Linked DNA regions of Homo sapiens: region 2 is linked to region 1. The links are contacts of gene promoters, found by promoter capture Hi-C in human tissues and cell types (Jung and others, 2019). All regions are on one chromosome and are shown on one strand. The core of a region is centred on a gene start or on the middle of the fragment in contact, and the rest is flanking DNA. Distances in the headings are between cores, read along the strand shown.

What was found. The method cuts DNA at HindIII sites, captures the fragments that hold promoters and counts their contacts. A contact is called where the count stands out against the background at its distance.
Region 2: a contact is called between the fragment with the promoter of TGM6 here and the fragment with the promoter of SIRPB1 in region 1, in 3 of the 25 tissues and cell types used here (IMR-90 fibroblasts, small bowel and stomach).

What each region holds. Positions count from the first base shown.
Region 1 is chr20:1,617,723-1,623,259 of GRCh38, forward strand. It overlaps SIRPB1 (signal regulatory protein beta 1), which reads right to left and starts at 2,287. Exons shown (of 6, transcript NM_006065.5): 1 at 2,147-2,287. The coding sequence starts at 2,222. The HindIII fragment of the contact is 12,957 bases long and covers 1-5,537 here.
Region 2 is chr20:2,377,531-2,383,067 of GRCh38, forward strand. It overlaps TGM6 (transglutaminase 6), which reads left to right and starts at 3,371. Exons shown (of 13, transcript NM_198994.3): 1 at 3,371-3,445. The coding sequence starts at 3,439. The HindIII fragment of the contact is 30,296 bases long and covers 1-5,537 here.

The DNA.
Region 1 (5,537 bases), core at 1,037-3,536:
TATGTTAATTAGCTCAAATTAGGCATTCTGCAATGTACACATATTTCATTAATATGGTATACATGATAAGTATATACAGTTCTGTCAAATAAAAATAAAATATTTTGTTAAAAGTTTCATTGAAATTAGAAACTTGGAGAAACAATGATAAAAAATGAAATCTCCTGTGTGTGCATGTACACTTACTTATATGCATACATGCATATACATATGTATACACACATATGTATACACACATTTGCAAATATATATACACACACATATATGTATATATACACACACACACATATATATGTATATATAGACACACACATATACATTCACAAATATATATCAAAGTGTGACCTATTGTGATAGTATATAAGTTTGTTTTGTGTATTAAATAAAATTACAACACACGTTAAAATCTCATTAAAATATCTGGCCCATAGAAAGTAAAATATGTGGCCCATAGAAAGCATCCAACACATTAATAACAAATTTAGAAGTACATACATCACAGTTGTAACTCTGGTTGTTGCTAACAAGTGTGGTAGGCAATAATTAATTCTATGTTTACTTCCCTGCATTTTCTAATATTTCTGCTAGTAGCATAACACGACTAAAAGAATGAACTTTGGAGCCGGTCGACCTGGACTTGAATCTCAGCTGCTCCACTGACTGAGGTAGGGGACAATGAATGGACAAGTTCCTCCCTCTGCCTGAGTCTTTGTTTGGAAATAGGGGATAATAGTTGCAGCTTTCACACAGGGATGTTGTGAGGATTAGTGGAGCTAAAACAGGCAAAATGCTAATAACTGTGTCTACATGGTAGGAAGAGCTCAATTGTTAAACTCTTACTGCTGTCATTTGGGTACAGTGTATGTGTGAGAAAAATAATTTGAAAAGTGAGACCCCTGCCCTCTAGGGCCTGTGAGGTGACATCACAGCAGGGCCCAGTGGGGAATTGAGAGGCTGCTGTGCCCAGCCCTGTGGTTCTGGGGTCAGCTCCATGGCCTGAGAAGGGATCAGGACAGGTAACTTGTCTGGGAGCTGTGAGCAGGGTTCTCCCAGGCTGCACCAGGAAAGGCCCTCCAATCCTGCCTGTCTTGGGAAGGGGAAAGAAATTATCCATGGGAAATTTAAGAGAACCAAAGGAGGTTGTAGTACCTGTTATGGGCTGAATGTGTCCCACAAAATGCATGTGTTGAAGCTCTAATCCCCAGCACCTCTGAACGTTACAGTTTGGGAGACAGGGTCTTTAAGAAGTAATTTAGTTAAATGAGGTCATTGGGGTGGGCCTTAATACAACAAGACTGATATTCTCATAAGAAGAGGAGATGAGGACACAGACACACACAGAGGAAGATCATGTGTTTAAGACACAGAGAGAAAATGGCCCTGTATAAGCCAAGGAGAGAGACTTCAGTAGAAACTAACCCTGCTGACACCTTGATCTTGGACTTCAGCCTCCTTAACTGCAAGGAAGTAAATATCTGTAGTTTCAGCCACCCAGCCTGCAGTTCTTTGTTATGGAAGCCCTAGGAAAGGAATATAGGACCCAGTAAGCAGCAAATGTGGAACTTCTTAAAGAGGAAGAGGCCACAGAGAAATGGGTGGTAAGAATCAGGTCACAGGGGAGGGAGGAGCATGGGGGAACAGAGGACAAAGTGAGGAGCACCCTTAGGGAGGATGGTGGCTGAACACTCCCAGGATACACCACACCACTGCCCTACTCAAGTGAGCACTATTACAGACTTCACATCCTCAGTTTGGTGAAGAGAGAGGGCTGGGCCTAGAGCCACATAACCCTGTTAGGGTGTCTCTGAGCTTACTCTGTGGACTTGGGCATGTCACTTGGCCCTAGGGCCTCAGGACTGGTGAGGATTTAGATAATGATTCTTCTCTGCTTTTTCAATTGAAATATTATCAAAATGTAAGTAATTGTTGTTGTGGTGGTTGAATCGTCCTGTGGTTCAATGCCTCTGGTAGCCAGCTGCAGATCCACAGAGAAAGTGCTCAGCTCCCTGATTTTCTGCTCTCAGTCAAAGCCTAATCCTTGGCCTTTCTTGGCAGCACTTGTCATTGTCCGGAATCCCTGAAAGTCCAGGGACAGGCCATGGCTCAGTGGGCAGGAAAAAAGATTTTAACCGAAGGCAGTGCTCACCTGTGAGTCTCCCCAGCAGTAGCGTCATCAGCAGGAAAGGACTAGGAAGGTGGGGCCAGGAGGCTGGCACGGGCATTCTGGAGACCTTAGGAGCCTGCTCTGTCCAAACGTCTGTGCTGGGAAGATCGCAGACTCTGCTCTGAGGAGAGAAGACAAGCCCTGCCTCCCTTAGTTCAAGAGGAAGTGGCTGCGATGGAGTGAAGCAGTAACCTGCTTCTGGATTGTGAAACAGAAATCAGGAACAGCAAGCAGCTACAATGCAAGCAGTTATGCATGCCCCATTTCAGGAGAATCAGACAGGCTTAGCAGAAATAATGCTTCCTTCCCACCTGAGGTCTTAACTCCTTCCATGACTCCTAACCCCATCTTTATGTCTTCTTGGTGATTTGCCATTTGGTGCTCTTAAGCCAGGAAGGACCTGTGGTTATGAAATGTTTCCTAAACTTTCCATCTCAAGACCTCAGGATGTGGTTGGCTTGTGGTCTCATTCTACAACAGCCTCAACCAAGTGCTACTCAGTTGGGGCAGGATGAGGGATCACTGGACCTGCTCAGTGTTGGAGAGGAACAGGTCTGCTCTTGAAATGGTTCCCTATTCCGAACTTTTATAAATATAAATGGCAAAACTTAGCCCAAATTCAGTCTCATGTGGCCGTTAGCACTTTCATATGCCTGCACCCAGCAGAAGGAATTATTTCCTGACTTCTTCCAGGAGAGGAAGTGGGCTTAGGGTAATAAGGATCTGCTTTGTGAGGTGAGGTGGGGATTATGGGTTATGGAAAGGGGATATGTTTATTATGGGGGAGAATATGGAGGGCAGATTCCTGGAGCAGTCACATCGATTTCAATACTCTTTGCTCTGCACATAGAACACCTATTCCATTCATCACTGTCTTCAGATGGGAACTGAGGAGGGAGGGAGAATAAATACCCTAAGAAGATGTGCTAAGGAGTTGGGGAAGTTACTGGGCCTGCCTAGGTTCAGTTTTGCCTTCTAACCTTGGGATAATAAGTCTCACTGCCATGTTTTAGTGAACATCAAAAGAGATAATGACTATACATCCCTGAGATTCAGTAGGTTATTATTGATACTCATGGTGCCAGGTGAAGAGAGGGAACTCAAATATTGCTTTTAAATGGATTTCTACTGCATGCTGAGTTTCCCACCAGTGGCCTTCTCCCATGTTCCCCGGACTTCTGGAACCCAGCTTTTATGGTGTACTTGGTCTACCTCTGACACTCTGAGATCAATTTCTCCCTCTGGATCCTCTTCACCCTGCTTTTTGTCAATCTGTAGATGAATTCCTTTTCTTACAATCTCCAGCTGTGTGACTTTCAACAAGACACTTGACTTCTCTAAGCCTTAACTTAATTACATGTAAATGGAAGTTATAACATGCACCTTGTAGTGATATGGTAAGAGTAATATAAGCCATACAGAAGGTTTGATTCATATTTAATTATAACCAAAAAATTGTGGCTATAATTACATTTGTGTACAGGGTGAGTTCACTGCTTCCCTGACATACTTGTGCTTTAGAAAAATTTCCTTGGTAGGAGAAATGGTTTCTCCTCCATCATCTGTGACTAAGAAAGACCTGTCTGGAAACCTCTCTTTCCCATGCTGGGCTTGCAATCCTTCACCTATCATGAGTAATTGTCAAATGAAATTGTAAAAGTCATCACATTTCCATGCAAATTTCTTTTTCAATGTGGCAGATGCACAGAGGGTGAAATCATCACCTCCTGCTCCACACTCACAGAAATGAATATAAAAATGATAAAATCATGTTAATCGATGCCAAATTACACTTTAAAACAAGAAACTAGTCTCTATATGACATGAAGGGTAGTAGCTGCTGTGTTTACTGCAGATGTCCTGTGCTCCAGGTACTGTGCCAAGCATTTTGTCAGTTACCTCATTAATTCATCACTCTGGTCCCATGAAATTAGCACTACCATTAACCTTTTTTTATAGGTGAGGAAACTTGAGGCACGCAGGCAATAATACATTTGTTCAACATCACCCAGCTTTTAGAACTAGAACACAGGTTGTCACACTCCATGGCCTTCACTATGACACCTCTCATAAGAAGGGAGAGATATCTCTCAGGAAGGAAGCAGAGAAGAAGCCATAACGTCAATTAGGCGCAGCCTCCACAGCAAGGTTGGGATAGGTGCCATGTTCCATAAAGTGCTGACAGCCCATGATCACTCAGGGCATTATTCCTGTAAAGATTACAGTGAAAGCAGTAATCACTAAAGATTTGGGGAAAAGCGACATCATAATAAATTCAAAAACAATAACTAAAAAACAAAAACAGCAATGAAAATAACATCTTAGAAAATAATACCTCAGAAAATAAAAATATAAAATGTGAAAATATTTTTAACATTAACATATTTAGTAACCTTATAGAGATAATGAAAAGAAAGTAAATCCATAAAACAAAGTCACGTGTGAAACAAGAATAGGTAGGTGTGCAGTAACAACAGGTATCTGAGAAAAGTAATAAAAAGAAGAATTTTGAAAAAATATAATTAGTGCTAAATTGTTTAAAAAACAAATAGGTGGATGTATTAATCTGTTCTTTCTATAATTGTTATAATGAAATACCTGAGACTGAGACTGGGTAATTGATAAAGAGAAGAGGTTTAATTGGCTGATGGTTTCAGAGGCTTTACAGGAAGCATAATGCTGGTATCAGCTTCTGGGAGGTCACAGGAAACTTACAAAAATGGCAAAAGGTGAAGGGGAAGTGAGCATATTTACACGACCAGAGCAGGAGGGAGAGAGAGAGTAGGGAGGTGCCACACATTTTAAAACCACCAGATCTCATGAGAACTCACTCATCATCATGAGAACAGCACCAAGAGGGAAATCTGACCCAAAGACCCAGCCAACTTCCACCAGGTCCTACCTCCAACACTGGGGGTTACAATTCAACATGAGATTTTGGTGGTGGCACAGATCTAAACCTTATCATTTTCTCCTGCCCACTTTCAAATATTATGTCCTTATCACATTGCAAATACAATCATACCTTCCCAGAAGTCCCCCAAAGTCTTAACTCATTTCAGTATTAAGTCAAAAGTCCAAAGTCTTATCTGAGACAAGGCAAGTGCCTTCCACCTATAAGCCTGTAAAATTAAAAATAAGTCAGTTACTTCCAAGATACAATGGGGTATAGGCATTGGCTTTAGCCATCTGAATGGGAATACTCCCATTTCAAAAGAGATACATTGCCCAAAAGAAAGGGAATACAGGCCTATGCAATGCAATCTGAAACCCAGCAGGGCAGCCATTAAAGCTCCAAAATTATCTCCTTTGACTCCATGTCTCACATCCAGGGCACACTGGTGGAAGGGGTGCACTCCCAAAACCTGAGCAG
Region 2 (5,537 bases), core at 2,121-4,620, 760 kb after region 1:
CAGGGCCTTTGGAATGAGGAGTGCCACAGAATAAAAATGGTGGTTTGAGGATACGTATGTATCTAGAGGGAAATTTGGCAAAATATATCATAATTTTGCTTGTTTATTTGTTTTTAGAGACAGAGTCTTGCTACGTTGCCCAGGCTGGACCCAAACTGGGCTCGCTGTATCTTTCCACCTCAGCCTCCCAAGTAGCTGGGACTACAGGTGCACACCACCATGCCTGGCTTGTTATTTTAAATAATAATAATAATAATGTTTTTGAAAGGTAGTATATACCCACAGTCAAACATTTCTAAGAGTTCAAAAATTAGGTTTCTCCCTGACTTCTCGTTTCTACCACCTCCTTTTATTTTCCACCTTACTTTTTGTTTTTAATTAGGCAATGTATCTAGGAGACTGTTTCATATCCACGTGCATCAGTCTGCCTCCACTTTTTAAATAGCTACATAGTATTTTATTACATGGATAGATCATAATTTATCCCATTAATGAAGACAGGAGAGTTTTCACTCTTTCTGTTATAATTAATGTTGCAATAAATATCCTCGTACTTAAATCTTTCCACACTTTTGGATCCATCTGTCGGACAAATTCCTGCACATGGAATTGCTGTCTTGAAGAATGGCTCCTCTCAACAATTTCACTTGGCAGAAATTGTCCCATCATAGAAGCACACAAAAATACATGCAAACAATTAAATTTCTTTATAAGGGCAAAAAAGTGGAAATGACCTAAATTCTTATAAATTTAAGAAGGGTTAGTAAAATTATGTAAATTCACACAAGAGATGACATTAATAATGACAGTGCATAGCTATATTCTATGATTTGAAAAGCTGTCATCTCAGCACTTTGGGAGGCCAAGGCGGGTGGATCACGAGGTCAGGAGATTGAGACCATCCTGGCCATGGTGAAACTCCATCTCTACTAAAAGTAAATTAAAAAAAAAAATTAGCTGAGCATGGTGGCGGGTGCCTGTAGTCCCAGCTACTTGGGAGGCTGAAGCAGAAGCAAGGTGAGAACCCGGGAGGTGGAGCTTGCAGTGAGCTGAGATCGAGCCACTGCACTCCAGCCTGGGCAACAGAACAAGACTCCGTCTCAAAAAAAGAAAAGAAAAGAGAGCACCATGTTTGGTCAAGCAAAAAGGACGGGTTACAAAACAGCTTCTGTGTATGATGCGATTCATGTAAATTTGTTGCCATGTGTATACAGCCGTATGCATGTATACTTTCTTCACTCCCTGTATTGCTTGAATTTTGTACCTGAGTATGTATTATCTCTATAGCCAGAAGAACAATTAAATTGCTTTTAAAGCATCTGATTATTCCCCAGGCACAGATTTTAATTTGTGAAGCACCCACTTTATGCCTGGCATTGGGGTACCCTGAGCCGCCCAAGGCTTTGGCTCCCGTCTGTCATCTCTAGCCTGATCATCAGAATCAGAGAATGTTGGAACTGGTAACACTTAGTTCACACCCGTATTTTACAGATGAAGGCAATAAGGCCCAGAGAAGGTAAGTGACCTGCTGAAGGTCACACAGCCAGTTTGGCCCAGAGATAACAGAACCCAGGACTCTACTGCCAGGCTATGATGCTCACTTCTAAACTGAGTATGGGCCGGGTGCAGTGGCTCTCACTTGTAATCTCGCACTTTGGGAGGCTGAGGTGGGCAGATCACCTGAGGTCAGGAGTTTGAGACCAGCCTGGCCAACATGGCGAAACTGTCTCTACTTAAAATACACAAAAAATTAGCCGGGCATGGTGGCACACGCCTGTAGTCCCAGCTACTCAGGAGGCTGAGGCAGGAGAATTGCTTGAACCCGGGAAGTAGAGGTTGCACCGAGCTGAGATCGTGCCGCTGCACTTCACCCTAGGTGACAGAGCGAGACCCTGTCTCAAAAAAAAAAAACGAGGAGTATGAATTATTATTTGGGGTCTCGAGCAGTGGGGCAGGCAGTGATTTTGATGCCCTGTCTTCTGGGAGCTCCCGTCCAAGCAAGCCCAGGATGAAAGATAAAAGGGCCCTGAATAAGACCATCATTAGTGGGGAGGAGCCTGACCCTGCATAGGCAGAAAAGCAGCTTCAGCAGGGCCCAGGGTCTACAGGGCAGCAGCCTGCAGGGTGTTGAGGAAGGAGCTGCCCTGGGCTGCTGCCAGATGTCAGTAATTATAAGGCTATGTGGGTCTGCAGACAGCTCATTAAAGACGCTTGATCTGCGTGAAACCAGGAAGCAGAACTCAGCCTCTTTGCCACTTTCTGTAAGAAATCCAACCACATCAAACACTTTGGGGTTTTTATGCAGTTTCCTGAATGTTGGGGTGATCCCAGGGAGCGGCCTCATCCTACTGTGCTCAGCACACGGTTGTCTCCTTACCCTTCCTTGTCTCTTTCCCTCGATTCTACCCCCTCCCACTTCCCCTTCCTCACTGGCCCAGGCCACATCCAGCCTTCGATAGCCCCAAGTCATCCATCAAAGCATTTCTCCGGCAAAAAGAAACCTACCCCACCGGCTTCCATGAAAATAAAATCCCCTCTATTTCATTAACAAAAGACCTCAGATGCCTTGAATTCCAGCACCTTCAAGCCCAGAATCTTAGACTTTGAGCTGGAATGGCCCTGAAGAATAATTGAGTCCAATCCCTTTAGTTTGTAGGTAGAAACACCAGGGTTCCAGGAGGGGAGAGGTCTTGTCCAAGGTCACGGGACACCCATGGCCACCAGGCCTCTAAGCTCCTGGCTGGAGGCCACTCACAAAGTCAGGGCAGATGGGCCTAGCTTCTGAGTCAGAACCAGCTCTCCCCTTTTTCTTATCTACCTCCTCTCAAGAGTCTAGTGTCCACCAAGGAAGTCTAGTGGCCCTGAAGGAGGATCATGGACCTCTGCCTCTTTAGATGCCTGCAGAACAGAGTGGAGCTGTGGGCCCAGGAGTCTTCTGCTCTCACCCAGGAGGGGAGAGGGAGCCACAGACTGACCCGGCACTGCAGCGTGCAACCATGTACTTCGGGGTCCTGGCGCTGAGCCTGTTTTTTCTCATTTGAGGGTTGTTGTGAGGGCTAAGAATGGCCAACCATAAATCCGAGTTCCCTCAGTCTTCTCTCTTTCCCCGTTCTTTTTCTTGCCAGGCTTGTGACCTTTCTGAGCCTCAGTTTCTCCACAGTCCCATTCGCAACTCCGTGTTTCCAAGGTCTCTTGGCAGGAGCCACTCCCACAGTGAACCCCTCTAGGTGCAATTACAGGATGATTTTGTGTCTCGTGGGTGTCGCTGCTAGGGTGGAGGGCCACGCCTCCTCTTTTGAATTCTGACTTTCCTGCCTAGGAGTGTCCCAAGGTTTTCCTTGTTAAAATTGGTCTGGCTGGCTGCTGTGACGCGCCACACTGTCCTGACGGTGCACACACTGCTGTGTGGAGGAACAGAGGAGTCCAGCTGGCCTTCACATGGCAGGTAAGTGGGCAGAGCCTGGGGCCTTGGGACACCAGGGCTCATGAGGGGGGCTTCAAGAAACACGGGTCTGTGGGATGACGTTTGATCATCGATTGTTAGGATTTTACAGCTGGATAGTCCACCATGAACACATGAACTCTTCGTGTGGATTCATGAGGCCCAGGATGAAAAAGCCAGCTTTAAGCCACCCAGCAAGGCCATGGCCCAGGCTGGCTCAGGCGCTGTCTCCTGGGCTGGGGCCAGGTCTCACCCCTGTGCCTCGGAGGACTGAAGGAGGCAGGCACAGGAAGGCAGGGGCAGAAAAAAGAAAATCTCCTTGCACCCCATGCACATTCCATGGATCCAGAGACGTTTCTGGGCATAGTTGGGAATTGTGGCCTGCGTGGGAAGGAGTGAGAGGCCCCCACCGGCTGCATCCTCGCCTGATTCCCACCCCAAGCACTTGAGGGCAAGAGCAGCTCTGGCTCAAGTGAAAACAGCTATATGACCTTGAGCAAGAAAATTTGCCCTTGGTACCTCTGTTTTCTGATCTGTGTAATGGGGATTATAATGCAAATTATCTCACAGCCTTGCTGTGAGGAGTTGGTGAGACCACGTGTGCTGTTCTCCCACCACACATCTCAAGTGGGGACTTGTAAACAGTAGACTCAGAAAATGTGGGTCGGGCACAGTGGCTCACGCCTCTAATCCCAGCATTTTGGGAGGCTGAAGGGGGTGGAATTCTTGAGCTCAGGAGTTTGAGACCAGCCTGGGCAATGTGGCAAAACCCCGTCTCTACAAAAAAATACAACAATTAGCTAGGCATGGTGGGGAACACCCAAAGTCCCAGCTACTTGGGAGGCTGAGGTGAGAGGATCGCTTGAGCTTAGGAGGTAGAGGCTACAGTGAGCCAAGATGGTGCCACTGCACTGCAGGCTGGGCAACAGAGTGAGACCCTGTCTCAAAAAAAAAAGAAAGTAAGATAATGTGTCCCCCACGACCTCAATATAGTGAGCAGCAAACTCCCTCTGCAAGAACTTGTCTTAGATGCTGGGGCCCGGTAATGAGCAAGTCAGCAGAACCAGGGGTCCTACACTCACAGGTATTCAAGGGGTGTTTCTGAGTCTGTGTCTGCCAGTTTTAATTGTTCAGCATTATGTGACAGTTTTATGAATCAAATATTTTTTTAACTTTCAAAGGCAGATATTTGAATTTCCTCATCATAGTCTAGCTTCCTCTTCATATTTCCTCCTGGCAGTTAACAGCATTGCTGGACGTGTTGGGCCCTTCAGGCTCCTAGGATAGGTCTGTTCTGAAGACCAGGCCTTGCCAACACCAGCTCACAGCCCAGACTGCCTGTTTCCAGAGCTGGGGTTGCCTCCCTGATGGCCCTGGTGCAGAGGGGATTGCCTTTGTTCCTCCAAGATCTGCTTCTCAAAGTTCACCTAGATGATCCCTCTTCCCTGGGCCTTTGATAACCTATCAGACTTAAACTTGACAGTGCGAAGGTTAGTTTCTGAGGAAGGAAAAAAGTTGATGATGATGCCCATTGTCAGGTCTGTAACTAACTTGCTGGGTTCCTCTCTCTGAAGCTCTGTTTCTCCGTCTGTGAAATGTCAGCATTGGAGTTGTCATGCCTATGTAAATGGACTATGTGTTGGATTGGATTCAATTCCTGGGTCTTCTGGGTCCTCTTGGCTTCTTGGGAGGATCTGTTCCTCAGAGCAGTAGGTCCTGCCTACCACACACTCTGTGCCTGAATGACTGAGACATCAGATCCTAGATGGAAAGTGTATTCATCTTCCTGGAGCTCCTTCTATCCCCCCTCCCTCACTCCATCCATGGTGGACATCCCTAGTTGACCCCAGAGCTCTTCCCTCTGGAGCCTGGATGTGGCCCCAGAATGCTCAACCCAGCTCTTTAAGTACCAGTTGATCAGTGTTGGCAAAGGAGGTGAGACCCTTTTGCCATGATTAAATTACAATCATCTTTCAGCTCAGAGATTCCAAGAATTGAGTGGAATACTGTATGTGAGGCTGGCTCTGGCTGGGACATTGGGTTGGAGTTGATGAGTCACTGCCTCCTGGTGAAAGAGAGGCCAGCAGCTTCCAAC